Regions from separate parts of the Homo sapiens genome. Here region 2 is linked to region 1. The links are contacts of gene promoters, found by promoter capture Hi-C in human tissues and cell types (Jung and others, 2019). All regions are on one chromosome and are shown on one strand. The core of a region is centred on a gene start or on the middle of the fragment in contact, and the rest is flanking DNA. Distances in the headings are between cores, read along the strand shown. Region 1 holds the start of FAM180A (family with sequence similarity 180 member A). Region 2 overlaps CHRM2 (cholinergic receptor muscarinic 2).

What was found. The method cuts DNA at HindIII sites, captures the fragments that hold promoters and counts their contacts. A contact is called where the count stands out against the background at its distance.
Region 2: a fragment that was not itself captured here is called in contact with the fragment with the promoter of FAM180A in region 1 in 1 of the 25 tissues and cell types used here (mesenchymal stem cells).

What each region holds. Positions count from the first base shown.
Region 1 is chr7:135,747,506-135,751,016 of GRCh38, forward strand. FAM180A (family with sequence similarity 180 member A) reads right to left here and starts at 1,308. Exons shown (of 4, transcript NM_205855.4): 1 at 1,000-1,308. The coding sequence starts at 1,075. The HindIII fragment of the contact is 9,123 bases long and covers 1-3,511 here.
Region 2 is chr7:136,930,341-136,933,706 of GRCh38, forward strand. All of the region lies in intron 2 of CHRM2 (cholinergic receptor muscarinic 2), which reads left to right. All of the region lies in intron 2 of LOC349160 (a long non-coding RNA gene), which reads right to left. Among named protein-coding and RNA genes, the nearest start is that of MIR490, 29 kb to the left of the region's middle. The HindIII fragment of the contact is 4,485 bases long and covers 1-3,366 here.

The sequences.
Region 1 (3,511 bases), core at 58-2,557:
GCTTTTGCCTCCCTCCCATTTCAGATCCTTCTCTCGCGCTGCTCTATCCCCACTCCGGCCACTCCTTCCTTCCCTGACACTGTCCTTGAGAAGCAAGCAGGAGGCGCATCCATGCCACCATGCCAGTTGCCTTCCAATTTTGCATCTCTAGAAACACCTACTGGCCTGACTTGAAGGAGCCTGTTCTTCTTGCGGTTCTTTCTAGGAGAGTGAACTCAGTTGACTTTAGGCAGTGGAAAGATTTCCGTTCATATTGGTGAAGAGTGGGCAGTGCCGTGGGTCCCTCCTTTCCTAACAGTGATAAACTCTGGCTCGAGGTGCTCCCAGTGTCTACCAAGCAGAGCCACTCCCAGGGAAATGGAGAAAAGATGCCATCCAGCTAGGAGGAACTACATCCTGAGGGGGAGGAAGTCAGTGATAAGAGAACAGCCTTTGCTGGGGCCCCTTCCTTTGTGAGGAGGTGGCGGAGCTGGTGGGTGCAGTGGAGGTTGAAGGGTTGCTCTCCTCACCTGCCCACCTCTGGCTGCAGAGATGCATCCCCTCCCGGTGAGGAGGCAACGTTCTGCAGAGCTTCTGCTCTGGTTCCCCCAGGGAGCAGGCCTTTGGCATCCCAGTGCCCATCACTCCATCATTTTAGCAGCAGGTCTCAGCACCTGCTCTCCAGACGGTCTGGCCCAACTGCTGCAGGTGGTGGGGGCAGTCGAAGAAATGAGTTCTACTTTCTATGAAGCAGAAATGAGTTCTCTCTGGGATGCCAGAAAGGGGTACTCTCTGGGTTCTCCACCTCAACCTAATTCCCTCAGGAGCTTTGATTTTTTCCAGTGTCATTTCCCCATCACCCTCTAAGAAGGGGGAACACGTCAAGAAGCATCAAGGAATTGACAGAGATTAGACAAAAGGAGAGTGCGGGGCTTCTAATGTCCTTCCCTCCAAATTTTGAATTGCATTGAAGAAAGTATAATGAGCATCAAACAAACAAATGAATAAAAAGCAACTCACCCCTGCTCCACCTGTGGCACATAGAAGCCTCAGCATTGTAATACAACAGCAGAAGCAGCAACATCTTCCAATGCATCTTGTCCTTCAAAAGGTGAAAAATCGACCCTCAAGCCCAGTGGAACCCCAGTAGCTGCAGGTATGCCCGTGCCGTTCTTCCCAGTGAGATGATGGAGTGCTTCCCTCCCTTCCTTTTGCAGACGTGCAGAAATGCCTACTCTGCCTCAGAAGGCTGGAGGCTGAAGGCTGCGTCCTGGGTGGGACAGGAGTCGGTACCTCTCTTCATTTGACGCTCTCTGGGATTGGGGAACTGGCCTTCCACAGAGAGACTCTGTTTTTGAGCACATCTGGAGTGACTCACGGGGCATGTGATCTCCTTGGCAGTGGGGCGGATAAATATAATTTCTGTACTTGAGTTCCATGTGTTGGATGCACCCACTGGAATTTTTCTTTAACAAACAGACCCGCGGAACTTGTTAGAGAGCCCGGCGAAGAGTTGGCTGCTCTCCCCGTCCACACATACGATACCAGAGCCAGGGGCGAGGGCTGGAGGCAGAGTTGGGAGCCTGCCTGGCAGACACCAGGGCTGGTTGAGCCTAAGTTGCCTTCAGGACAGCAAAATCATTGTGGTGCCTGGGCTGAGTGTCACTGTTGCCTGGCCCTGGAGCTAGACTAGGACATTGGCGCCTAGAGCCTGTGTCTGGTCTGCCCAGGTTCTGGGTGGGTGGGGAGTTGGCAGGTTGTGACCGAGCCGAAGTGGAGAGGTGACATGGTGCATCGGTATTGTCTGTGTGAACGTGCGTAGGTAATGATCCAGGAGCCCACGGGGACCCCCAACTCACATTGGTGATGCTCCCATTTCTGGGCTGTGCCTAGACCTGGGGCCAAGCCCCACAACTCACATTGGTGATGCTCCCATTTCTGGGCTGTGCCTAGACCTGGGGCCAAGCCACTTTGATTTTCCCAAGCAAAATGGGAGTGTTTTTCCATAGTCGTTGTAATATACTGCCATAGACACCTTAATTCTTTCCCAATCACTTCCTCAACTTCTCTGAAATGATAGGGAATGCTAAAGCTTGAAGGACACTTAAAGATTATGTCATCCTGTGGGTTTTCCAGTTTGTGGAGGTGGTGCCCAGGGTGAATGGGCTCCCCAAGAGGGCTCCTCAAAGCTCTACTCTACTGCAAAAGCTCCTCTTTTATCTGCTATAAGAAGTTGTTTGGGAGCCGGGCATGGTGGTTCACGCCTGTAATCCCAACACTTTGGGAGGCCGAAGTGGGGGAATTGCTTGAGGCCAGAAGTTCAAGACCAACCTAGAGAAAATAGACCCTGTCTCTACAAAAAATTAAAAAATTAGCTGGGCGTGGTGGCATGTGCCTGTAGTCCTAGTCACTCAGGTGGCTGAGGCAGAAGGATTGTTTAGGCCCAGGAGTTCAAGGCTGCAGTGAGCTATGATCACAACACTCTACTCCAGCCTGGGTGACAGAGTAAGAACTTTCCTCTTAAAAAAATTAAAAAAAAAACAACCAGTTTTTTTGGGGGAAAAAATACTAGACTACAACATTTGAAAACCAGTACGCTCACTAATATTAATAATAGCTATTAGGTGCTTAATTTGCTTCAGACAGCGTGCTAGGTGCCCTCCTTGCATTAACTGATTTAATGCATCCACCGAACTAGGAGGTTAGGGCACTAGCCAGCAGCACTCTCCAACAGAAATGTAACGTGAATCACAAACGTCACTTAACATTTTCTACAACTCATACTAAAAAAAAGTAAAAAGAGGCTGGGTGCAGTGGCTCACGCCTGTAATCCTAGCACTTTGGGAGGCCGAGGCAGGCGGATCACCTGAGGTCAGGAGTTCGTGACCAGCCTGGCCAACATGGCAAAACCTCGTCTCTCCTAAAAATACAAAAATTAGCCGGGCATGGTGGTGCACACCTGTAATCCCAGCTACTCGAGAGGCTGAGGCAGGAGAGTCTCTTGAGCCTGCGAGGTGAAGGTTGTGGTGAGGCGAGATGGTGCCACTGCACTCTAGCCTGGGCAACACGAGTGAAACTCCATCTCAAAAAAATAAAAAATAGAAAAAGTAAAAAGAAACAAGTGCAATGAATAGTAATAATATCTTTCATTTAATTCAATATATCCAAGATATTATCATTTCTACAAGTAAGTGATATAGTATTAGCAAGATATTTTATATATATATATATAATATTTACATGAGGTCTTTGAAATCTAATGTGTATTTCACACTTATAGCACTTCTCAAGTCACACCAGCCCTGTTTCAAGTACCTGATAGCTCCATGCAGCCAGTGGCTCCTGTATCGGGCAGTGCAGAGCTAGAAGGTGAGAGGGCAGGCTCTGGGGCAAGATGCCTGTCTTTGTATCCCAGCTGTGCCACTGACTAGCTGTGTGATATTGGTGGAGTTCCCTCATCTCTCTTGGGCTTGATTTTCTTCATCTATAGAATGGGGACAATAATAATTTCCTCTCATAGGGTTGTTTCAAG
Region 2 (3,366 bases), core at 679-3,178, 1.2 Mb after region 1:
CCAACAATAAAGGTTTCAAAAAGCATCTTACATGTCTTAACTTCATCTGGGATCTAGGAGGAAATGCAGATGCTCGGGTCCCAGACCTTCTAAATCACAATCTTCAGTGTAATAAAATCCTCAGCTTATTTGTTTGCACAATCATTAAATTAAAATTTAAGTTTAAAATTAAAATTTGAGAAACCTTTCTCTAGGAGATTTTTTGCTGATATATTAATTCTGCAGCTAAAATCATCAGTGCTTATACGATAGGAAAAAAAAAAATGGATAGAAAATGCCAGGCGCGGTGGCTCATGCCTGTAATCCCAGCACTTTGGGAGGCCAAGGAGGGTGGATCACGAGGTCAGGAAATCGAGACCATCGTGGTTAACACGGTGAAACCCCGTCTCTACTAAAAATACAAAAAATCAGCCAGTTGTGGTGGCGGGCACCTGTAGTCCCAGCTACTCAGGAGGCTGAGGCAGGAGAATGGCGTGAACCTGGGAGGCGGAGTTTGCAGTGAGCCGAGACTGCGCCACTGCACTCCAGCCTGGGCTACAGAGCCAGACTCATTCTCTCAAAAAAAAAAAAAAAAAAAAAAAAAAAAAGGATAGAAAGATCCTTACCACATATTACCTCTTTGCTCTATCTGTAATAGTTTTAGGGTTTAAAAGGATGTCAGTCACAGGAACAGGAATTATTCTATCCTAAGTTTTCTGGTACGATTATCTCCTTACTACTAGGATTATTTTGATTCGTTCTAGTTTTCAATGGCTTAGATATGTGCACAGTTATTGTTTATAAACATCTTCAGAATCTTTTTGGAAGTGAGTGTAAATAACAGATAGAAACATGTTCAAAACTATGCCTTTTTTGATAAGATAATTTAGGTATGTTGGGGAAATAACATTTCTCTAATGTTCTATTTGGTGAAACTACTTTGGGCACAAAGACAGATAGAGATTTGTGTTCCAGCAAATGCACAGCAGGAACAGCTGAAACCCAGGGAGAGATAATGCCCTAAGTATAGCAGTTAAGTGATAAAGATTTTGATTCCTAAAGTGGCGAGCCCCAAGCCTCAAAGTGGCAGAAGCAGCTTAAGACAGCACATAGAAATGAGAAGAACCTCCTGGAGCTATGAAGATACCTTTGGGTACTGAGGAAGCCACGTAATGCACATTCCAAAGGACAGATACTTACAATTGGTGACAGTTGACTGCAGATCACACAAAGCACCATAATGTACTGAAACAGTTACCAGCACCTCCCCCATCATGAAATCCAAAGATCCTTTCAAAATTGTGAACTGTTATCTCTGTGATGTTGTCCACTCCTGGACACTCCTGTATAGTACTCTCCTTTGGCTTTGCTGACCTGCCATACACTGTCCAGACTTGCCTCCCTGATCTGTCCCTTTGAAGACTGCATTTCTCTTCTTAACTCCTTCACGTATTGCTTCAATTTTTACTTCCAGAGAGGTGACTGAAAAATACACTTTGAATCCAGATATCCAGTTTCCCAAACAAGAATATCTAGAATACACCTAAAATTCAGTAGATTGATCAGAGATAAACAAATGTATAATGTTTTGTGCAACACAAGGAACTTTCAGTTATATTCTGTGTAGTCGTGGGTTTTAATTAAGGTTGCCTTAGAAACCAGCACAAAGGACAAGGGGGCCAAACTTCTGAGATTTTTGGAAAACTCTCTCTGTACCTATTTTATTTACTAGTGATCTGTGTAGGTTGTATTTGGTGGGATAATGATAATAACAAAAACAAAAATAATAATCTGATTCAAAATTTACATTATGGATATTACAGAAATAAAAAGGACTATAAGGGAATACAGCGCACAACTGTTTGTCAACCAGGTAGGTTACATAAATAAAACGGACAAAATCTTAGAAACACACAAACTAATGAAACTGACTAAGGAGGAAACAAAATGGAAATAGACATAGTAAAGAGAGTGAATTAGTAATTTGAAAACTTCCCTCATAAAGCTCAAATGAGGACAAAAATGGCTTCACTGGTGAATTCTTCTAAATGCTTAAAAGAAGACTTTGTATCAATCCTATATCAAATCTTTGACAAAACAGAAGTGGAGCGTACCCTACCCAATCTTTTCTAGTCAGACAGAATAAAACCTTACATTTATGGTTAAGTGATTTTGACAAAGATGTCATCATAATTCACTGGGGAAAGATTAATCTTCTCAACAATTGTGCCACAACAGCTGGATATCCACATGCAAAATAATAAATTCATACAACTACCTTACATTATACATTAAAACAAACTAAAATGGATCATAGATATAAATATGGGAGTTAAAATTATATTAATAAAGAGGAAAACAGGATAATGCATTTTCTTGACCTTGAGTTAGTCTGATTTATTGGATATGACATTTAAATAGATTTTTAGGCTGGGTATGGTGACTCATACCGATAATCGCAGCACTTTGGGAGGCCGAGGCAGGTGGATCACTTGAGGTCAGGAGTTCAAGACCAACCTGGCCAACATGGCGAAACCTGGTCTATACTAAAAATACCAAAATTAGCTGGGCATGGTGGCGTGCACCTGTAGTCCCAGCTACTCAGGAGGCTGAGGCAGGAGAATCACTTAAACCTGGGAGGCAGAGGTTGCAGTGGGCCCAGATTGTGCCACTGCACTTCAGTCTGGGTGACAGAGCAAGACTCTGTTTCAAAAATAAATAAATAAATACATAAATAAATAAATAATTTTTTTAAATAGATAAATTGGTCTCCTACAAAGTTAAAAACATTTTTTACTTCAAAACAAATTGAACAGTCGCTCAATGGACAAAAATATTTGCAAATCATATATCTTTCAAGGAAGCTGTATCTCACAACTTCTAAAGAAACTCTTACAGCTTACTAAAGAAAAGTAATCCAATTAAAAGATGGGCAAATGATCGGAACAGACATTTCTCCAAAGGAGATAAACAAATGGTTATTAAGCATATTTGAATAATTATAAGCAACAATGATGATCAGCATCATTTGCCATTAGGGAAATATTAATGAAAATCACACTGAGATATTATTTCATACACACCAGGAGAGCTATAATCAAAAAGATAATATCAAGTGTTGTCAAGGATGTGGAGAAAATTGAACCATTTACGTTGTTGATAAGAATGAATAAAGTTGCAGCCACTTTGGAAAATATTTTGGTATTTCTTCAAAAATTTAAATATAGAGTCACCAACATGACTCAACAATTCTCCTTCTAGTAAAATGAAAATATACATCTATAAAATGTTTGTACATGAATGTTCACAGCAGTACTCTTTATAATAATCAAAAAGTGGAAATAACTCAGATTTTTATTAACTGATGAATAGATAAACAAAATGTGA